5 separate regions of the Homo sapiens genome follow, and all the other regions are linked to region 2. Evidence: promoter capture Hi-C in 16 types of primary human blood cells and fetal thymus (Javierre and others, 2016). All regions are on one chromosome and are shown on one strand. Each heading gives the region's core, a stretch centred on a gene start or on the middle of the fragment in contact. The rest is flanking DNA. Distances are from core to core; before and after follow the strand shown. Region 1 holds the start of ZNF282 (zinc finger protein 282). Region 2 holds the start of AGAP3 (ArfGAP with GTPase domain, ankyrin repeat and PH domain 3). Region 3 overlaps ZNF862 (zinc finger protein 862). Region 4 has its middle 3.3 kb from the start of TRC-GCA9-4. Region 5 has its middle 21 kb from the start of ZNF467.

Region 1 (4,353 bases), core at 310-2,809, 1.9 Mb after region 2:
GTGACAGTTCACTGGTCATCTGGGACCTGGTGTCAGACTCAGGGCTCACTGGACCACATGGGCTGGCAGCCGACTCTCCTTCACACCTGGGACAGGAAGAGGTGTCATTTTCTGTCCTCCCGATGGCTGCAGAAAAGGCCCTCAGGCTAGGAAAAGGGGAGGCCTGCTGCTTGGGGCGATCTGGGCAGACCAGCCCCACTCTCTGACTCAAGAGCAGCCCTGCTCCGGGGCAGACCTGCTCCGGGACACAGCAGAGTGGAGAGCAGGGCCCTAGGATCGCCAGGCCCTGTAATACCAGTAAGAGGTGCTGGTGTTTCCATCAAAAGCACCCATTCCTCCATCACAGAGGCTCCACTCCGCCCTAGCCCACAGAAGGGGACAGAGTCCACAGTAGAAGTTAAGAAAGTCCCGGGGCCCAGTTTAGTTTTCTCGGGTTTGAAGCCCTAACCCTGAAAATGATCAAACACAACACAGCAGCCCCTGGCTCCCTCGTTAGCACCTGGCTGAGAGCCGCGTGGTGAGCAGAGGGGCCCCTGAGCAGCCCAGCCCCAGGGTGGGCCCAGAGAGTCTTCCCTGGGCAAGCTTTCAGGCCTCTCTGAGGATCCACCTCCCCTGGTTTTATACCCAATTCTGGAGCACCGGTTCTGCCCACGGAGATCATCGATGGAGCCTGAAGAAATGCCTGGTGCTACTCTCACCCGTCAGAGACCCTGAGCTCTGGGACCAGGCAAGGGCTCAGGAGTCTTAAAAGCTGCCCAGGCCATTCCAACATGCGGCCAAGTTTGTCAACCGCAGGAAAGACCCCGAAGTCATCTCTCCATGGCCCCCTCCCTGGATCACACCCGGTGCAGGGGGAGAGTGAATTACTCATTACACTTGGTGAAAGGTGGTAATCAAACATTTAAAAAATATCCCCGTCAAATTGGCCACCGTGTAAACACGAACGAGGCATTCACTTCTGCGGCCGGGCGGAAGCACTGCCCGCGAAGCTCTCCGCCGGCCGGGCGCAAAGGGAGCCCCAAGCCGGGGCTCAGCCACAGGGTCAGAGCTCTGCCAGGTCCCGGAAAGGACGGTCCCGGCCCCCGCCCCGCGGGGCCTCCGCACTTGGGCCCGGCGACCGCTGCTCCGCGCCGCGCGGGCCAGGCCTGCCCTTCCGGGCCTGCGTCGGGCCCGCTCCGTCCTGCCCGCCGCGCAGCCCGGCCGTGCCCCGCCCGCCTCGGGCCTCGCCTGGGCGCGGAAGCTGGGAGGGCGCCGCAAGGCTACCGGAGGACGGCGCGGCCCGGTCCCGCGGCCCAGCCCGCGCCCCGCCCCCACGGCAGCGCGGCCATGGCGCCGGCGGGGTTCTCCCACCTGCATGGGCGGCATTCCCTCGGCCATTTCCCCGCGCAGCGCCGGCTCCTGGTGGCAGACCTCCTCCGGGGGCAGAGCCTGGGCCCAGCTCCAGCTCCCGCTGTCCAGCCCCAGGCCCTGGATGCCCAGCTGCTGAGGCTGCGGCCGTGTTGACACAAACTGCATCCTGGGAGTGCTGTTCCCCGCTCGGGTCGGCCAGGGAGAAGAAGAACGTTTTCCAGGCGCCTTCCCCCTCTCCGGGGCCGGACAGCTCCATCTACAGCCCGTAGGAGCAAACAGTCCCCTTCGGCGGCGCTCCCCGCCCCTTGGCAGCCCGCGCGCCAGCCAATGGCCTCGGAGCTCCTGCCCGCCTGCGGGGACCTACCGGGGCCACTCCCGGACTGGGGTCGCCACCGCCCCAAAACTGAGAGGCGGCGGCCTCGCCCAGGGGTCAGGCCCCCTCAATCTGGGATGGCCGACTTTAAAGGCCCAAACTATGCGAGGACCTGGACTGTGGGCTTGATTACTGTTAATTCTGCAAATGTATTGGGCATCCCGGGAGAAAATAGTGCCTGACCCTTGTGAAAATTTTGCAGGAGTAATTCTGTCTTCAGACACTTTCTTCTGGCCTTCTGCCTTCCCTCACTCCTTTGCAGACTTTACCTCCCACTCCCCTTCTTCCCAATCCAGATTTACCTGGACCCATCCCAGAGCTTTTGCACTGTTATGGATGATAGAGAAGTGATTCATGTTAAGGTGTCAAAAGAGGGCTGAGCTCTTTCTCCCAGGTAAGGTGCAGTGCATTTTAACAGTGGCCTCTTCAAACACCTTGAAATTGGGTTGGGCGTGGTGCCTCACACCTGTAATCTCAGCACTCTGAGAGGCTGAAGCAGGAGAACGACTTGAGCCCAGGAGTTCGAGACCAGACTGAGCAACATATTGACACCCCATCCCTATAAAAAATAAAAATTAGCCGAGCGCGGTGGCTCACATCTGTAATCCCAGCACATTGGGAGGCTGAGGCAGGCGGATCACCTGAGGTCAGGAGTTCGAGACCAGCCTGGCCAACATGGTGAAACCCCGTCTCTACTAAAAATACAAAAAGATTAGCCGGGCGTGGTGGCGTGGGCCTATAATCCTAGCTACTCGGGAGGCTGAGGCAGGAGAATCGCTTCAACCTCCGAAGCGGAGGTTGCAGTGAGCCAAGATCGCGCCAGTGCGCTCCAGCCTGGGCAACAGAGCGAGACTCCATCTCAAAAAATAATAATAAGGCCGGGCGCCGTGGCTCACGCCTGTAATCCCAGCACTTTGGGAGGCCAAGACGGGCGGATCACGAGGTCAGGAGATCGAGACCATCCTGGCTAACACGGTGAAACCCCGTCTCTACTAAAAATACAAAAAAATTAGCCGGGTGTGGTGGCGGCGCCTGTAGTCCCAGCTACTCGGGAGGCTGAGGCAGGAGAATGGCGTGAACCCGGGAGGCGGAGCTTGCAGTGAGCCGAGATCGCGCCACTGCACTCTAGCCTGGGCAACAGAGCAAGACTCCGTCTCAAAAAAAAATAATAATAATAATAATAAAATAAAAAATAAAAATTACCCGGGCATGATGGCTAATGCCTGTACTCCTAGTTACTCAGGAGGCTAAGGCTGTAGGATTGCTTGAACTCAGGAGTTGGAGGTTGCAGTGAGCTGTGATTGTGCCGTTGTGCTCCAGCTTGGGCGGCATAGCAAAGATCCTGTGTCAAATAAATAAATAAATAAACCTTTAAATCGGGCAGTCATGGTGGCTCACACCTGTAATCCCAACACTTTGGAGGCCAAGGCTGAGGCCAGGAGTTCAAGACCAGCCTGGGTGACACAGCGAGATCCCTTCTCTACAAATAAAACCCTTTAAAGGCAGGTCAGTGTCACTTTGAAACATCAGGCCAGGTCAGAGGAGGAGCCAGGGAGAGGCCAGTATAAGCTGATGAAGATGGAGGAGGGGAAAATTCAGTCATTCCAAATGTATTTATTGAACACCTACTGTGTGCCAGGTACTGTTTAGGAAGAGGGTGAGCTTTGCAGTTGCATACACCTGAGTTTAAATCCCAAAATCACCACTCACTAGCTATGACTTTGAGCAACTTATTTAACTTCTCTGAGCCTCATTCTCTTCATATATAAATGAAGAAAATAATGGCAACTCTATTTTAATGTTGTAAAATTAAATGAGAATTGTGCCTGGCACATAGCGAGCATTCTGCAAAGATAGTTACCCCCAAAAGGTGTTTTTGTAATTATTCTCAAAATAGTATTTACTTTGTTTTCCTAAAGGACCAGTCCCTGTCTTGTTAAGGAAGAGATCTCTGAGGCTCATCACCTTGTGTGGAAGCAGACCTGCTAGTACCTTTAAGTTCCACTGCACTTCATAAAATAAAGGACATTATTGGCCTACGTGAGACATGTGCTTAGAAGGCCATATTCAGAAGAACAGTTACCAAGTACTTTCTCTGCTAGGCACACTTCTAGGATACAGAAATGAGTATTCACAGACTTAAGATTATCCTCAAGGAGCTTATAGGCCAGTAAAGTCCATGCTCCCAGAAGTCAGTGATTTCCTTCCCTGCTTCCTGGCCCTGATTGTAAACATCACGTCCACTTTTATTAGAGGAACCAGGCAAGTTAAGTCTGAAAAGCTCTAGGCAAATTCATTTCCACCAGCGAGCCACATTTCAGAACACGTCTTCTGCACTGTAGATTATCAACTATCTTTTCTCTTTCCTAGAGGTGATAAAGGAAGGACTAGGTTAGTCCCAAACATTTATGCTATCTTTTCTGTATAAAGCCTTTAAAATGACTTCCCTTCCTAAGCACTTAACTAGTTATAACGATGTCCTTTGTTACATAGTAAGACATCGCTGTAGTGTGTCTACTTCACATTTCTCCTTCACAGCGGGTGGATTTTCATGCAGCCATCAACACTATCACCCTTTGTGACCAGAGTAGTTGCTCAGAGCTAGAGGTCCCATTCATTGTTAAGATGAT
Region 2 (4,472 bases), core at 969-3,468:
ACCTCTCCCTGCTCTGGGAAAAGCTCGGAAGCAGATGTGCCCCCACCCTCCTGTGGCCGGCCCACGAGGCTTGTCGCCCTCCAGAAGGAGCTGGGGGAAGGTAAGCTTGGAGCAAATCAGGAATGTCTTTACTTCCTCCAAGGACAGTGAAGCTGCAGCAACGATGTCTCTCCCGCCTCCACCCTCTTCAGATCTAAGAGGAAAAATTGGTCATCTCCTGTCTTTGGGGCCCAGGGCTCGCACAAATGCCATCTCCTAGTCCCCAGCCACAGCGGTGATTCAGGCCATTTACTCAGATCCACGTTAATGAGTTTTTTCTGTCACCTAATTAGTTCACAGAGAACTCAGCCTTGAGAGGAAAGAAATAAGAACGGGTTGGGAAAAGGCAGAAGGAAGTCAGACTGGCATGTCACAACAAAAGATAGAACCCAGCACCACATGGGGTCCCCCCAGACCCAGTACTTCTTCCCCGGCTATGGGGACCTCTGAAAGCAGAAAGGGAGGTGTTCAGGTGCACTATCCCCCAGAACCTCAGGCAAGCAGATGAAGCTGGGAGTGGGGCCCTAACCTTAAGGCCCAAGTCAGGGACAGGCCCCTGCCCATAACTCCATGTTATCGCAAAAGGCCTTGGCTCTCACTGCATTTCCACTGAGGCCAAACCCACCACCTGCCGGTGGGCGTCCCCTTTCAAACAGAGCTGGGGGAGGAAGCAGATGGCCCAGGGTGAGGCCCATCTGTCCGTGCCCGCTCGAAGGTCACCATGCCACCGGGGTGCCTGCGGGTGCCTCCAGCACCCACCACACCAGGGCTTGCGAGGCATCTGCCAGCAGCGTGCCACCACTTCCTGTGCCCTCAGCGGTCGAAAGTCCAGGGCCTAAGGGCCCAGAGAAAAAAGCGCTAGGCAGCGCAGTGGCCGGGGGTTTCCGGTCCCCGACTCCGGGTGCGGTGTCCCTGGCGGTCGGTCAGCACCCGGCTGCCCAGCAGCTGCCTCCAGACCGAGGAGCCGCGGATCCCCGTCAGGCTCATGACCCGGCCAAAGCGCGGATGGACCTGCCGGCGCCTCCCACGCGGTCGCTGAGCCTCAGCCCAGCGCCAGGCCCGGCCCGCTCCCGCTTGGCCGCCGCGGCGTAGGGGGTGTGCGTCGGGAGAGGGCGCCGCGGCGAGCGCCACCCTCCGGGCCTGCGGGCGCTGGGCCCGGGAAGGCTGCCATCCACTAACGCGAGGCTCCGATCCCCCGCCCCACTGCGGAGCAGGGCCCGGGCAGCGGCTAAGAAGCCTCCCCGGTCACGACCCCACCTCCCCGCAGCTGAAGCCCTCTGCCGCGCCCACCTTCCCCGGCCAGGCCTGGACAGATCTGGTCCCGGCCCCCCCAAGCGACACCACCTTCGCGCCCTGGAACACAGTCAGCAGAAAACCCCCAACCCCAAAGTGTCCCCGAACGAGATATGGCGAAGCTGCCCGCCGGTTCTGCAACACAGATCGGCAAACCTCGTGGCCTGGTCCTCAAGCGCGCAAGGACCCCCGACAGGGAGAGCATGGCCAGGCACGGCCTGTGGAGCCCTCGGCCGGCGCCGGAGAGGCCACTGCGCCCCGGCTCCCGCAGCCCCCGGCTCCGCTCACCCTCGATGGAGATGACGTGCTCCCGGATCTGGTTCTGCAGCGCCAAATCCTCGATGCGCTCGATCAGGTCGTAGATGGCGTAGATATTGGGATGCACGGACTCGAAGCGCTGGATCTCGGCCCGGATGGCCGCGGAGTTGGAGAGCGCGAACTGCTGGGGGGGCCCGCCGGCCAGCTGCTGCGAGGGGCCGCCGCCGCCCCCGGCCCCGGGCCCCGCGCCGCCGAACTGCCCGCCGCAGACGAGCTGCTGCGCGGCAGCGCCGCCGCCCCCCGGAGCCGCCAGGCTCTGCTGCTGCTGCGGGCTCTGCCCCCCGCCCGCCTGGAAGTTCATGGCTTCGGAGCCGTGGGGCCCGAGGCGGGCCCGGGGCGGCGCGGCGGAGGCGGCGGCGGCGGCGGCGGCGGCAGCGGCGAGCGGGAGCGCGGGGCTGGCGGGGCCGGGACTACTGGGCTGGCGGCGCGGGGCTAGCGCATGGAGCCGGGGGCCGGGGGCCGGAGGCCGAGGCCAGGAGGCGCCGCCGCGCACGCTGTGGCCGCCGCTGCCGAGCGCTTCCCAGCGCCGTGATCCCGCTGCCTCGGAGCAGCCTCCAGCGGCAACAACAACGGGACCGGGAGCGCGCGGCCCAGGCCCTCCCCCCGCGTCATGCGCACGCACCGCCGCCCCCGCCGGCTCCGGCACACGCAGCCCGAGCCCCCCTCCCCGCCGCCCCCGCCCCTCCTGCGCGCCGGCCCGGGCGCCCCCGCCCCTCGCTCGCTCGCTGGCTCTGCAGCCTCCACCCCCGAGCCGCGCGCTCCAGCCCTGGCGCCCCGGCCCCTCCCACTCAGCCTCGGCCCTTCCGCCTCCTCACCAGCCCCCACCCGCATTGCCTCGAGGGCCACCCTCGCGGAGGGGACAGCTGCCCTGGTCTCCTCCCGCGCCCGGCTGTCGCTTTCGCCTCCCTGCGCTGATCTGGGCGGGGTGTCGGATCTCTAGGCAATGCCCAAACAGTGCCCTGCGCCTGAGGGTGCTGCTGACCGAGGCTGATTGGCCGAGGAGTCCGCCCAGGCCCAGCTGCTCCTCGCTTACAGCGTCCCGCCTTCAGTGCGGCATAGGCTCCCCTGTCCCCAGGCTCCGAGGTCAGCCCTAGAGACCACCCTGCTGCCGGAGTTTTCTCCCTGTCTCCCTGCCCAGGCTCTCCACTGCCGGCTGCAGCAGTGCTCTCCTAAAAGACCCTCCCCCTGCCGGACTTGGGAGATTAGCTAAATGCTACCCGACCCCATTGGTACATAGAGGAAGAAGAGGGAGGGATGAAATAGTATATGCCTTTCTCCCCTACTCATCCCATTGGAGAGACCAACCAAAGCCCACGTGGCTCTCAATTTTTCTTGTCCTCACCCCTTGTCCATCCTGTCCTTTCACTCCCTCTAGGGCCAGGGAGCTCCCTGAAATGTCCCAGTTCCTCTGCAGTCCCATTGCCAAAGTGGGCTGCAGTTCTGTTAGCCCCCTCCCCCCCACCAACACACACACGTTTCCTAAAACCTACAAGAGGTGACATTTGCAGAGGCCGCAGCCAATAAATCTGCCAGAGATGTTGCAGGGTATCTGCTACCCCCAGATATCCTAGGGCATCAGTGACACACATCGTCCTTCTTACGCACACTTCCACTTCCCTGGCCAAGCTGGATCTTTTCCCAGCATGAAGCTGTCCACTGTTTGATTACCCACACAACTCAGCCCCAGAACCAACCCAGTCACTATTCCCGAGTTCCTTGTACCTTCCAAAGCACCTGGTGCAAGCTAATCAACACACAGGGTCTCCTAAGCTCCTGAGGAACCTGTGTTTCTATCTCCCTGCATAAGCTTAAGGATATCTTGTGCCCTCTCTGGGTTTCATCTGCGAAATATAGTGGTTGAACATAAAACCTAGTTCTGATGTTGTATAATTCTAAAAGTAACATCCAACATCTCTTTTAGGTGCTTAATTAGAATTGACAGCAGGAAGTAGCACCAGGTATACCTCCCAAGAGAGACACTAAGAGCAAAGAGCTCCTCAAATGTGTTGCCCCAGCAACTAGCACACACGTGTTATAGCACTGTTGGGCTGTTCACACGTCTAGCTCTTCTACTAGTATATGGAGCCACATGAGGGCAGGAAGAGGGTCTGATTCACCATTTTATTCCCAGTATCTTGCACAATGCCTGGGATATAGTGTGTGTGTGTGTGTGTGTGTGTGTGTGTGTGTGTGTGTGTGTAATTTTTTTTGAGACGGAGTCTCACTCTGTCACCCAGGCTGGAGTGCAGTGACTCGATCTCAGCTCACTGCAACCTCCACCTCCCGCATTCAAATGATTCTCCTGCCTCAGCCTCCCGAGTAGCTGGGATTACAGGCGCCCGCCACCACGCCCAGCTAATTTTTGTATTTTTTTTTGTAGAGACAGGGTTTTACCATGTTGGCCAGGCTGGTCTCGAACTCAGTGATCCGCCTGCCTTGGCTCCCAAAGTGCCAGGATTACAGGCGTGAGCCACTGCGCCTGGCCATAGTACATCTTTTAAAAAATATGTTAGTAGAATAAATGAATGAACAGGAGGGATGGAACTAGAGGTAGGTTAGTTCTGTATGGTATCAATCTAGACTGACATTCCTAAGGCAATATTTGGGCCACTTGCTCCCACAGTAGGCAAGAACCATGGGAAGACTAGGATAGATTATTTTAAATCAAGACTGGCCTGTAAAAACCAGGATGTGAGATCTCTGTGGCTACAGGAGCCCAGAGGGAAAAATCCAGATATCCACAGGCCTGGGATTCAATGCCATCCACACAGTAACACACCAAAGACCCGACTCCTGAGACCAGGTTTGGGTGGAGGTGAGCG
Region 3 (4,665 bases), core at 1-2,500, 1.2 Mb after region 2:
TAACCAGAGTTATAATGATCAAAACCAGGAAACTCAACCCTGATATCATACTATTATCTAATCTAAGTTCATACTAAATTTCTTCACTTGTCCCCAAAATGTCTCTATAGCCCAGCATCTGTCCTAGCATCATGCACTCAAGTTGTCACACCTCTTCAGTCTCCTTTAATTGAGGTAGTTTGCCAGCCTTTCTCTGTCTTTTTTTTGATCGGGACACTTTTGAAGAGTTTTGTACCAGGCATTGCACTCACTGAAATTAGAACAGGAAGATTTCATGTTATTTGAGTGTGATAAGAAAAAGTTCCAGGCCCTGCCTAGATTTAACCCAGAGGGTGAGAAAGAAAAGGCCCCCAGAGCTGACACGCTCAGCGGTGAACGGGAGGATGCAATTGTTTTATAAGCGCGTCCTGCTGGAGTCCGTCCCTCCTAAGATAATGTCCACATACGTTATTTAGAAATAATGCGGCAAATTACTGGAAGAAACAGCTACAAGATTCTGGGGAACAGGACTTTGTAAAAGAGAAAGGTGGGACAGGGGACTGTCATTTTTCTTTTTTTTTTTTTTTTGAGATGGAGTCTGGCTCTGTCGCCCAGGCTGGAGTACAGTGGCACGATCTTGGCTCACTGCAACCTCCACCTCCCAGGTTCAAGCGATTCTCCTGCCTCAGCCTCCCGAGTAGCTGGAACTAAGGGTGTGTGCCACTACGCTCGGCTAATTTTTGTATTTTTAGTAGAGATGGGGTCTCGCCATGTTGGCCAGGCTGGTCTCGAACTCCCGACCTCAGGTGATCCACCTGCCTCAGTCTCCCAAAGTGCTGGGATTACAGGCGTGAGCCACCGCACCCGGCAGAAATATTTTTAAAGAATAATTGAAAACAAACAGGGACCAAATGTTCCCAAATCTGTTTGCCTCCATTTATATTCCTTTTGGGTACTGTCCACCTTTGACTGCCGCTGGCGCCACTACCCTGGCCCCAGGAATACCGTACCCTGATGGTACCTCTCTGAAGCTGCAGCCTACATCTTATCAAAACCTCTTCTTTTTGTTCCCTTCCAAACAAATGAAATGGAGGGGAATTTTCAGCGTTTTCTATGACTTAGTAATGGAAAAAGAAGGAGGGCACATAACTGTGGCGAGTGCGTGCACACACCCACAAACACCCACATTCCATAACAGTCCATAACAATGGTTTGGCCTACAAAGGACTCCTCATCCTTCCAGGCTAACTTCACCAAGGGCCAGCAGGCCCTATCCCATGAATCCATTCTGCAAAAGCCACTCTAGCCAGGTGCAGTGCGTGTGCCTGTAATCCCAGATACTCCGGAGATGGAGGCAGGAGGATCGCCTGGGCCCGGGAGTTTCAGTCCTGACTGGGCAATATAGAGAGACCCCATCTCAAACAAACAAATAAATAGATGCCACTCTAGCCCCTCACCTTGGTTCTTCTTTCTCTAGCTCCGGCTGCCCCCACTTGGAGGCCATCATCACATGTCCTGCCGTGGAGAAGCTGGGGGACTCGAACTCCCCTGCTCATCTTCTTTAGGGCCCTCCCACTCAGTGTTGTTTTCCATGAGTGACACAACGCCTTCCCCCAGCTCTGTAAGGCCTGGCTGTAGTTACCGACTTCTCCTGTGGACAAGAAACTGCCCGCCTGCAGTGAGTGGCCACTCAGCATACGATGACACCTTTACAAATAAAAGCAAGGGCTACCCACATAGTCCCTATGTTGGCCTGTCTATTTCCATTAATGACAAATATTAGTTTCTTAACAGTGGGATGTAATTGAGATTTCTGGCTGCTTTTTGGGAAGAAGCAACAGACTTCATCAGATATGGCAAGCCAGGTGCAGTGGCTCACGCCGTAATCCAACACTTTGGGGGCTAAGTCAGCAGGATCACTTGAGTCCAGCAGTTTGAGACCAGCCTGGGCAGCAAAGTGAGACTCCATCTCTACAAAAAAATTTAAACATTAGCCAGGTGTTGTGGCATGCGCCTGTAGTCCCAGCTACTTGGGAGGCTAAGGCAGGAGGATTGCTTGAGCCCAGGAGTTCAAGGTTACAGTGAGCTATGATGGCACCACTGCACTCCAGCCTGGGTGACAGAGTGACAGCCTGTCTCTCTCTCTCTCTCTCACACACACACACACACACACACACACACACACACAAAACTGAGTTCACCCCAAGAAGTTGTTTTGTGTATTAAAAGATAATGCAAAATAATATTTGGTTTTCAACTCTTAGAGCATTTGTTATGGAGGGTAAAGTGTGGGAAATAAAAAAAAAAACAAGCCAAAGTAAAAATAATAATAACAATTAAAGAATCTCCACTATGTTTTAACACTACTTTATATCCCAATTTAATACTATTATATACCACTTTTAAACATACAAATAGCTTATGCCAGGCCCTGCCCATAGTCCCCAGGCTCCTTAAGATGCTTCTATATCTCAAACATGAAGAACTGTTTAAATTCGGGGATAGTTCAAGGATAACCAGAGATCCAATTAAAGTAACTGAAAGGAATCACACACATGCAACTCCGTTTCTAGACTCCCATACCTGTCTCAATTTCACAGACAACCGGAGAGGCCAGGCCCACCCCCTAGAAAGCCTTTCTGATTCCTGCCTCTGACCCTCGAGGAAAATGAGTTCCCTTCCCTCTGATTACATTTTTTGTTCATCCAAATAAAATTTAAAGACCTTAGTTAGCTGAGATTTCCCTACTGCCTAATTTACGTAAATGAAAAAGAAACTGATAAAATGTTTAGATCATGCTCTGTCAACACACAAAACGTGAGGAAACAGGCACAGGCTAAACAATCCTGGCCAGCCCTCCCTGCACTGCTGCAGAAGCTGCCCTGGGCCAGCAACACCATCGCCTGGTACCTTCACAATCGCCCGGGGGCCTCACAGTGAAACTGAGTCGCTAGTGCCGATTACATTAAAGGAAAACCCAACTTTTTGCAGAGGGTATGCATTTTTAAGACAGGTGTGAATTTCGCCCTCACTCTCACTGCTCTTCAGCACAGCACGGGCAGTGATACTCTGAGGGGATACACCTAACCTAGGGCATGACAACAAAACCTCTGTCACCACAAAATAAATAATTTTAGTCACTTCTGAATGTTTGGGAAGCCATTTAAAAATTACGAACAATGACAAAAACATGTTGGCCAGGTGTGCTGGCTCATACCTGTAATCCTAGCACTTTGAGAGGCCAAGGCAGGTGGATCACCTGAGGTCAGGAGTTCGACACCAGCCTGGCCAACATGGTGAAACCCCGTCTCTACTCAAAAAACAAAAATTAGCCTGGGAGGCAGAGGTTGCAGTGAACCAAGATCACGCCACTGCACTCCAGCTTGGGCGACAGAGTGAGACTGTCTCCAACAAAAAAAGTTGTCTTTCCATCTTGATGCTTCATAAGAACCTTGCTAATCTGCCAGAAAGAGGCAAAGAGAAGATAAAACAGCAGATGCAGGAGAGGAGAGCACCATCCTGAGGAGCAAGAAGCACTGCCCTCTTCCTAATCTGCCAAGGTCCAAACCCCATGACTCCCGTGCTGAAGGCTGCCAACCCTTGCCGGCGCCTGGCCAGGATGCAGGAGCCTTAGCCCTGGGCTGCACAGATAGGGGTGGCTCTGCCAGGCCGTCCCCTCCATCATGGCTCAATGCCCTTCCTCCTTCTGATCCACCTGGTTTTGAACTCAATTAAAACATTTCCTACTCTATAAAGGCTTCCTGATTCCTCCCACCAATGCCCAGGAAATCAAATCCCTCTTCTTCAGTAGCCCCGGGTACTCTTCTGGAAGCTCTTTTATGGGAGACTGTATTATTTTATAGTTTCTTATTAAAATGTCTGTCTCTCCCACAAACGTGCTAGGCCCTTGAAAGCAGAGACCATGGATCAGCTGTGTTCATCTGGCACATAGTAGGTACTCCAAAATGTTTGGTGGGGGACGAATGGATGAACAGGTGGGTGGATGAGAAGGTGATAAAGCACAGTTACCCCAAGCAGGGGAGTTATGAGGTGCAAAAGACAGGATCGGTCTCTGCCTACACACAGGGAGGGGGCAGGAATGGGAAGATAACCACAAGCCACAGCTCCCCTTGTGGGCTTCCCAAGTCAAAGGAGGGTGGTGAATAAGAGGCTCGGTGCGTCTTTACCCAAGGATGCCAACAGCTCGTAGTTCATCCGCATCACGTCTCTGTACAGCTCCTTCTGCCGCTTGTCTAGCATGCCCCACTCCTCCCGGGTGAAATACACTGCCACATCCTCGAACACCACCGGCAGCTCCTCAAACACCACAGGAACCTCCTCCGACAGCCCCTCTGCAGAAGGGTCCTGGAACAAAGAGCAGCGGCCACTCAGCACCGCCTGCCGAGCCAGACTCCCACGTGACACTTCTGGGGCCTTTGGAAGCCCTATTTCTCCTGGGAAGCTCACCAAGAGGCCCAGATGCACTCAGAGGAATTAATTTATCCACTGAAAGTCAAAGAATCAAATTCAGGAGGCCAGAATTAGTAGGTAAAAGCCAAGTGAGACTTGGTCAGATCCTAGGATCTCCTGGGCGGAAATGAAAGCGTGTGGAAAGAACAGGCAGCTGGGCAGAGCCTCTCACTGCATGCTGTCCTCAGAGTCCTGAGAGCTGCCTCCTGGTCACCT
Region 4 (4,482 bases), core at 244-2,743, 1.4 Mb after region 2:
TACTGGTCCATAGCCCAGGGACTGGGGACCCCTGCCTTAAACTTAAACACCTGTAGAAAGAAATCTCTATCCAAGTAAGATGCACCTTTGTTTTAAGCTGTGCAGATTCTTGGCACCTCTTTGACTCAAACGTCCACTTCCTGGCTAGGCTTCCTGCCCCATTTGTGGACCATCAGTCGCTAAAAGCAGTTCACCAACATGAAATTTGCTGCATGGCCAATTATTTAAATTATGGAGACACTTCCTGGCACCCCTATCCCCCAAATTTTAGTTGCGCCTTTGACCCTGTAGACCTGTATTTACCTCAGCCCGTGTGTGTGCGTTAAAAAATAGTTGTGAAGACCTGTCCTGAACCAGGTTTATTGGATGGCTCTGGACACAGACAAAGGCAGGAGTGGAGCTGAAACACATCTTTAAAAATTCCTTGGCTGGGGCCAGGCACGGTGGCTCACACCTGTAATCCCAGCACTTTGGGAGGCCAAGGCTGGTGAATTGCTTGGGCCTGGGAGTTCCAAACCAGCCTAGGCAACATGATGAAACCCCATCTCTACAAAAAATGCAAAAATTAGCCAGGTGCAGTGGTGTACCCCTGTAGTCCCAGCTGCTTGGAAGGCTGAGGTGGGAGAATCTCTTGAGCCCAGGAGGCAGAGGGGGGTTGCAGTGAGCCAAGATCACACCACAGCACTCCAGCCTGGGTGACAGAGCAAGACCCTGTCTCAAAAAAAAAAAAAAAAAATTTCAATAATTCAGATTGGTTGTTTAGCAAGTTGATATTCAGTGGTTTAGCTTTTACCATATTTGGCTTTTGGCTATCTGGTCATTCTGTGAATTGACTTTTGGTGAACTAGTCGGCACTTTTCCCAAATGAATCTAAAGGCAAATTGTGCTGGCCAGTCCTCCATGTGAAAATGGCTGCAACTTTAAAATATTTTCTGATTTTCATTATTATTTCTTTTTCCATCCATGAGATTATTTAAAAGTACTTTTTAATTTCCAAATACGAATCTTTTTATGAGTTATTTTGTTTTTGAGTTTTGCCTTATAGTCAGAGAATGTAGTAAGTGATGTTGATTTTTTAGAATTTTCTGAGACTGCTTTGTGGCCAAGTGTGCAATAGATGTTTGAAAATGTTCCATGTTTGCCTAAAAGAGTACATATATTCTAATATTGGTGTAGGATCTAGTTAGAGCTGTAAAATCAAGCTTATCAATCATGTGGTTTATGCCTTCTATAGTTTATCATCTTTTTGCATTTGGAACTATCAGTTACTAAAGAGGTGTTAAAATCTCATATCAAGTTTGTGCATTTGTCAATTTCTCCCTGAATTTGTGAGAATTTTCGCTTCATGTGTTTGGAGGCTGTGTGCTTACAAATTTAGAATTGTAGTATTTTCCTGGAGAATTGTTCATTCTATTATTAGAAAGTAACACTATCCCTAATAATAGTCTTTGTCTATAATCCATTTTGTTTGATATTGCTGCAGCTACACTAACTTTATTTTGGCAAGTATTTCTTTGATATATCTTTTCCTGTCCTTTTACTTTCAAACTTTGTGTATATTTATGTTTCAGATGTGTGTCATATAAGAGCATGTAGCTAGATTTTGTTGTTGCTGCTGAATCCAGTCTGACAATCTCTATCATAATCATGAATCTACTGATTTGAAAGTTATGCTTTCCTTTTTTATTCATTTGGGGGTTACTCTGTAATTTTACACACATATTTGGTTTAATAGAATCTAATATTACTACTTCTGATCTTCTCGCAAATGATAGAAAGCTTTTTGAATATGAGTTTAATCACACTCTTCCCCTTCTGTCTTGTGTGTAATTATTGTTCTTTTTAGTTACATCTTGTTTTTAAGACTCTCTCCTGATATTTGAAGTCATTGTTTTTGTTTTATACAATCTATGCTGTTTAGATTTACCAATGTGCTTACCACTATCTTTGTTCACTCTTTTTTCTTGCCTCTTTCTTCTTCCTTCTGGGTTCAATGTTCTTCCTGAAGCAGAACTTTTAAAATTTATTTCAGCAAGGATATTTTAGAAGTGGATACTTTCAGTTATATAAAATGTCTTACATTTTTCTCACTCCTGAATGATACTTTAGCCAGGGAGAGAACTGTTTCACACTTCTAATATTTTATTCCATTGTCTCCTGACTTTCATTGTTGCTATTGAAAAGTCTGCTGTCAGTCTAATTATTCCTTTGCATATGATTTAACTTCTCTGGCTTCATTTAAAATCATCTGTTTGGCCGGGCATGGTGGCTCACACCTGTAATCCCAGCATTTTGGGAGGCTGAAGCGGGAGGATCACCTGAGGTCAGGAGTTTGAGACCAGCCTGACCAACCTGGAGAAACCCCGACTCTACTAAAAATACAAAAAAAATTAGCCAGGCATGGTGGTGCATGCTTGTAATACCAGCTACTCGGAGGCTAAGGCAGGAGAATCACTTGAATCCAGGAGGCAGAGGTTGCAGTGAGCAGAGATCGTACCATTGCACTCTAGCCTGGGCAACAAGAGCAAAACTCCATCTAAAAAAAAAAAAAAATCTCTTTATCTGTGGTATCATGAAGTTTCACTGCAATGTGGCTAGGTATGGATCTTTTATTTATCTTTCTTGGAACTCGTGAGTCCTAAATCTGAGGTGTCACATCTTTGTACAAGTCTGGAAAATTCTCAGCTATTATATCTTTTAATATTGCCTCTTCCCAAGCTGGGCATGGTGGCTCATACCTGGAATCCCAGCACTTTGGGAGGCCGAGGCAAGTGGATCACGAGGTGAGGAGTTCGAGACCAGCCTGGCCAACATGGTGAAACCCCGTCTCTACTAAAAATACAAAATTTTAAAAATTAGCTGGGTGTGGTGGTGGGTGCCTGTAGTCCCAGCTACTCAGGAGGCTGAGGCAGGAGAATGGCATGAACCCAGGAGGCGGAGCTTGCAGTGAGCTGAGATCGTGTCACTGCACGACAGCCTGGGCAACAGAGACTCCGTCTAAAAAAAAAAAAAATTTAGGCCAGGTGTGGTGTCTCCCGCCTGTAATCCCAGCACTTTGGGAGGCCACAGTGGGCAGATCATCTGAGGTCAGGAGTTTGAGACCAGCCTGGCTAATATGGTGAAACCCTGCTTCTACTGAAATACAAAAAATTAGCCAGGCATGGTGACACACACCTGTAATCCCAGCTTCTCAGGAGGCTGAGGCAGGAGAGTTGCTTGAACCCAGGAAGCAGAGGTTGCAGTGAGCTGAGATCACGCCACTGCACTCCAGCCTGGGCAACAGAGCGAGACTCTGTCTCAAAAAATAAATAAATAATAATAAAATAAATATTGCCTCTTCCCCATTACACTTTCTTCTTGTGGAATTTGTATTTGACCTTTGTTGGACCCCTTTATTCTGCACCATCTCTTTTAGCTAGATATTTTTCATTTTTTTAGGCCTTTGTGCTTCATTCTTAGTGATTTTTAAAAGATTTACATTCTTTCATTCCTAAATCTCTCTTTAGTTTTGTCTAATGTGTGTTTAATCTGTTAATTAAATGATCAATTTTAGTGACTGCACTTTTCGTTTTAGATGTATCTGCTTTATCTTTAAAAAAAAAAAGCATAGGTGTCCACGCTTTCAATTCCTCATGTCTTAAAGATTTTTAAGTATCCTTACTTTATAGTATCTATCTGGTAACTCTATGGCCTGACTTTATGACTTTATTTTGTTTGGTGGCTCTCACTCATAATAGGCTGGTTCCTTGTATATTTTATTACTTTGAATTGTGAGGCCGTCTTAAGCCAGGCTTTATCAGTAGGAATCCTGTGCAGCCTGGCTTGAGGGTATGTCCTTCATGGTTTGTGTTTGCTTCTTTTGGATACTCTAGAATCATTGTCAGCCTGAGTACTTTTTTTTTTTTTGAGACGAAGTTTCACTCTTGTTGCCCGGGCTGGAGCACAATGGCGCAATCTCGGCTCACTGCAACCTCCGCCTCCCGGGTTCAAGCGATTCTCCTGCCTCAGCCTCCTGAGTAGCTGGGATTACAGGCGCCCGCCACCACACCTGGCTAATTTTTCTATATTTAGTAGAGACGGGGTTTCACCATGTTGACCAGGCTAGTCTTGAACTTCTGACCTCAGGTGATCCACCCACCTCAGCCTCCCGAAGTCCTGGGATTACAGGTGTGAGCCACCAGGGGATACTCTAGAATCATTGTTAGCCTGAGTACTTTGTATGTTAACTTTCAGGTTGAGGAATTTCTGAACCATGTAGGTGGTGTAAATTCAAAGCCATAACAAGTGTGAGGATAGATGTATGGTTATGGATTCTCAGGGGTGATGCCCTCTGCCTCCCTAGGAAGAGAAAGATGTCTTGTGTTCTTATGCTAGTGGATGCTTTTTTTTTTTTTCCTATGCTTTTACTAATATTATGGCTCTCTAAGAGTTTGACTTGGTACAAGAGAAGGGAGACTCAGGTCTTAGGCCAAATCTCCTGTA
Region 5 (4,266 bases), core at 1,450-3,949, 1.3 Mb after region 2:
GGAGATGTGTCATATCATTCAAAAAAGCCAAAAGAGGCTGGGCACTGTGGCTGACACCTGTAATCCCAGCACTTTGGGAGGCCGAGGTGGGAGAATCACTTGAGGCCAAGAGTTCAAGACCAGCCTGGGCAACATAGGGAGACTCCATTTCTAAAAAAAAAAAAAAATTTAATTACCCAGGCATGGTAGCAGGCCTGTAGTCCTAGTGACTCAAGAGGCTGAGGTAGGAGGATGCCTTGAGCCCAGGAGTTTGAGGTTACAGTAAACCAAGATTGTATCACTGCACTCCAGCCCGGGTGACAGAGCAAGAACTTGTCTGAAAAAAAAAAAAAAAAAGATAAAACATAAACAGTTTTGCTTTGTGTTACTTTATTCTTCGTGTGATTTTTAAATTTAAATTTTTCCTAGTCCTATAACAGTAAAATAGCTTTGATAGGACAGTAAACAGTTGACTTTTAGGAGACACTAAGAGCAACTGGGAACTCAGCCTTTTTCCATCAAACATGACTGTTTTGTTTGGTGTTTCTGTAAACTGTGTTTATGTGTCGGGGGTGGTGGTGTGCACACCAGGATTTACTTGTAGAGAGACATAGATGAAGGAAGGAGACAGCCTCCCGAGGAAGATGTTGCCTATGCTGGGGAGAGGGCTTGAAGGGGAGCCGGGGTGGGGGTTGGCGAGGTGGGTTGAGGGTGGGAGGGCTTCTGCTAGTATGTTCAGGGAGACAGATGGGCCGACTGAAGGCAGACAGGTTGGTGAGTGCGTTCACGGGACATGCTGGTTTCCAGTAGTGAAAGATTCTTTCTGCTCCTGGGACTCAAGAACCTGCTCGTAGTTGTTAACTCCAGGGTCCTGGGGAGGCCACCCATGCCCCACAGGGAAGAAAACTTCTTCACTCACTTACTGATCCTTGAAATGTCTTTTAACCAGAGACAAGTCTTGTATTTCACAGTCAGAGGGAGTATGCAAGACCCCCAGAAGAGGGCGCACGGCCACAATTCCACGCTGGTGGAAGGACTGGAATCCTGTCCTTCCCTGGGAACCCTCACCTGGGGAAGGATGAGTGAGTGTCACACTGAGGCCTCCCACAGTGGAGAAGCAGCAACGGAGAAGGAGGCCCCAGGAACCCTAAAGACAGAGACTTTAAGGTCGGGAGGGTTTCACAGAGGCTTTAGGAAACAGATTTATCCAACTGCCACAAAGGACTGAGCCTTCAGGCGTGGGATTAGGTCAGCCTTGGGGCAGGGGACATTCTTGGTCAATAGCAGGACTTTGATTTACGTAACGGGCTTATGCAATGTCATTACATAACATCATTAGGGGCATCGCAAATCGGATTCTATTTCAGGCTCTACAGGAGCCAGACCCAGGGCTCCCCTCCGGCCCAGCAAGACAGGATTCCCGTGGGCCCAGTGTCCCTGTCCTCGCTGGGATTTTCTCTCTTGAGATTTCACTGTGGGGCTTCCAGGAGAACTCCTAAGGCCTCAGGATCCTCTTTCTCCAGAATGATGGAGCTCGCGTCATAGCACGCTCATCCTTTGCAGATGCCTGCCCTGCTGCCCCTGCTGCCCCTGACCCTCCCAGTACTGTCCCCCCAAGCCCAGGCCAGTGGGCAACCTTCTCCTATCAGGTCCCCCTCTGACTTCTCCCCAACTCCTGCTTCCCCATCTATCCTCCAACTGTCAGGCTGATCTTCCTTATAACTTATTACGCCCCAGCTTAGAAACTTCTGCTCATCTGAATATCCAGAGGCCTTAGCGGTTGACACATTGTGCCACATTATTCTGTGTGTCCCTCTGGGGGTGGCAAGCTTCCCTGGCACAGAGCAGAGTGCCCACCTAGCCAGTGTGCAATACATGTCTGTTCTAACTCAAGGCTCTCTACAGTTGGCCCCAACAAACTTTTGAAACTTATTTTCCAAACCTCCTGGGTACACACCCTCCCTTACACCAAGCGGTCTTGTTCCTGTCTCCGGGCCGTGTGGTCCTTCCTGCCTCCTGCCCCGGCCTCCCTGGGCTTCCCCATCACAAAGTGCCTACTGCCCTGACTTCCCTTTTAAATCCTACCTATTTTTCGAGCACAGATGGGGGCCACCTCCTGGGGGTGTCCTTCCCCAATGATCCCAGCACACAACAATCTCCTCCTTTAAGCTGTCATGGTTCCTCTGCTTCCCACCTTACCAGATGTCGCCTGCAGTTGTTGGGTGTGTCCGCGTGTGCCTAAAATGTGTGAGTGCCTCCTGTGACTGAGGCTCCTACTTAATTCCCCTAAGCCCCCTTTGGTACGGGGTTGCTGTCCTCACTTCTCAGGTAAGGAAACCGGGGTTTAGAAAGGTTACACCCTTGTAGGAGCCTCATCTCTCCAGGCCCACTGGGAACATCTCGAGGGCGGAAGTCGTGTTTTTTTGTCTTGGTATTTCCAGGACCTGGCACATTTGAACACTCACAACACGTATGTTGAATTGTACAGGTGGAAGAGGAGCCTTTACAAGGCCTACCCATCTCAAAATCCCTCCCCTACCGGATAATCTGAGTGCCTAAAATCCACCCCTGCAGAGTTATAGCTGTGAACTAAGACAGGGTGACAGCAAACACAAATCCCAAAGTTAATAAATTCAGCGATCTATTTTTTCATGTGGCTGCTGAGATGGTTAAAGCTAAACTTACTGCTCAAATGCAATTATGTGAGTTAGATATCTGGTATGTTTCACATACTCTGCATGTCCCATTTAAAGCCTCACTGTAATATACCACCTTCGTTGGCCGTTACTGCAAAGTATATGTATTAGATGAGAAGAGAGCTACCTGAACTAAGAAGAGAGCTGAGAACCACACTCAGGAAAGCAGACAGAAAGGGGAAAGCAGGAATGTCAGTGTTGGAGAGGCCTGAGAATTTTCTAGGCTGTCGGTTCCTAACCTTTAGCAAACCACCAAGCATTTAGTTGTTTAAAGCTCCCTTCAGAGTAATGTGCATAGAAACAATGATTTGCACGTAATTTTAGAGGGTATGTGGACACCCTCTTTAAGCCCCTCTGTGGGCCCACATGGTCCGCAGAGCTGGTTTAAGAACCTCTGCTCTCATCCTGCATGACAGAACGGAGGCCTGGAGGAGAGAGGTTCTGCTGGGGCCTGAAGGGTGGGAGGGAGGGAAAGAGGAAATCCATGATTTTGCAGGGCAGGCCCTGCTGGCTAGTTTCCGGTTCTCCTTGTCATCTTGTGCCTGGGCTGCCCCTGGCACAGGAAGAGCCTGTGTGGCCAGAGGAACCTGCTTCCCCTCCACCCAGCTCTGCATGCCCCTCCCTGCTCAGCGGGCTGGGGAGGGTGGAGGTCCCAGGGTCCCACAACTAAGGTGGGCTCACATTCTGGGACCAGATCAGGACTCACAATTACCCCACAGGAGACTTCCACCCATCCCTCTCCCCAACCCAGATGGAAGCACACTTGCCTAGCTGGGCTGGAGGCAGATGACACACCTAGGGGGCCTGCCGGGGGCCTGGGTTGGGAACAGAAGCCCCAGCTCTGCACTCTGAGAGCTGTCCCTGAGTTATCCCCCACCCCTACCCCTGTGCAAAGGATGCTAATGAGAAGCTTTTCATTTCGCAGCTGCAGCAGCACAGCGTGCACACACTTGTCTCATTTTGCTGTTTCAGGAAAGAAAGCAGAGCTTGCTCACCCCTCGCCCCCACTTCTATTCCCAGTGAAGGTCACGGCTTCTCCTCAGCCCTGATTGGCAGCAGCCTTCTGAGGGCCAATGCTGGTGACCAGCAGTCAGGCTTCAGAGAGGGGCCTTCTGAGCTTTCCACAGCTCTGTGAGGAGATGTCCGAAGGGAAACATTGCAGAGTGGGACAAGGGGAGAGTCCAGAGATAAGAATTATCTATGTTGTTTTGTTTTTTTTTTTTTTGAGACAGAGTCTCACTCTGTCGCCCAAGCTGGAGCACAGTGGCACGATCTTGGCTCACTGCAGCCTCTGCCTCTTGGATTCAAGTGATTCTCCTGCCTCAGCCTCCTGGGTAGCTGGGATTACAGGCACCTGCCACCACGCTTGGCTAATTTTTTTTTTCTGTATTTTTAGTAGAGACAGGATTTTACCATGTTGGTCAGGCTGGTCTCAACCTCTTGACCTCAAGTGATCTGTCTGCCTTGGCCTCCCAAAGTGCTCAGATTACAGGCCTGAGCCACTGTGCCCAGCTGAGAATTATCTATTTTAAACCAAGTAGGTATTTAGGCACTTGAGAATACCCAGGGGAAAAATCTCACATCGCTGCCC

Evidence for each region. Contacts are between HindIII fragments. The CHiCAGO score rates a contact against its expected background, and 5 or more counts as called.
Region 1: the fragment with the promoter of ZNF282 here is called in contact with the fragment with the promoter of AGAP3 in region 2 in 1 of 17 cell types (neutrophils); the score reaches 5.7 in neutrophils.
Region 3: a contact is called between a fragment that was not itself captured here and the fragment with the promoter of AGAP3 in region 2, in 1 of 17 cell types (non-activated CD4 T cells). The highest score is 5.0, in non-activated CD4 T cells.
Region 4: a contact is called between a fragment that was not itself captured here and the fragment with the promoter of AGAP3 in region 2, in 1 of 17 cell types (non-activated CD4 T cells). The highest score is 6.1, in non-activated CD4 T cells.
Region 5: a fragment that was not itself captured here is called in contact with the fragment with the promoter of AGAP3 in region 2 in 1 of 17 cell types (neutrophils); the score reaches 8.7 in neutrophils.

What each region holds. Positions count from the first base shown.
Region 1 is chr7:149,192,752-149,197,104 of GRCh38, reverse strand. ZNF282 (zinc finger protein 282) reads right to left here and starts at 1,559. Exons shown (of 8, transcript NM_003575.4): 1 at 1,351-1,559. The coding sequence starts at 1,515. RefSeq lists an enhancer at 492-541 and silencers at 982-1,341, 1,462-1,783, 1,602-1,891. The HindIII fragment of the contact is 5,667 bases long and covers 585-4,353 here.
Region 2 is chr7:151,084,221-151,088,692 of GRCh38, reverse strand. AGAP3 (ArfGAP with GTPase domain, ankyrin repeat and PH domain 3) reads right to left here and starts at 2,218. Exons shown (of 18, transcript NM_031946.7): 1 at 1,621-2,218. The coding sequence starts at 1,951. RefSeq lists an enhancer at 663-822 and silencers at 1,043-1,312, 1,673-1,742, 2,109-2,198, 2,249-2,498. The HindIII fragment of the contact is 3,352 bases long and covers 108-3,459 here.
Region 3 is chr7:149,849,840-149,854,504 of GRCh38, reverse strand. ZNF862 (zinc finger protein 862) reads right to left here. Exons shown (of 8, transcript NM_001099220.3): 5 at 4,167-4,344. Among named protein-coding and RNA genes, the nearest start is that of ZNF862, 14 kb to the right of the region's middle. The HindIII fragment of the contact is 7,594 bases long and covers 1-4,665 here.
Region 4 is chr7:149,708,708-149,713,189 of GRCh38, reverse strand. No RefSeq gene overlaps it. Among named protein-coding and RNA genes, the nearest start is that of TRC-GCA9-4, 3.3 kb to the right of the region's middle. The HindIII fragment of the contact is 577 bases long and covers 1,205-1,781 here.
Region 5 is chr7:149,750,561-149,754,826 of GRCh38, reverse strand. No RefSeq gene overlaps it. Among named protein-coding and RNA genes, the nearest start is that of ZNF467, 21 kb to the left of the region's middle. The HindIII fragment of the contact is 1,777 bases long and covers 1,811-3,587 here.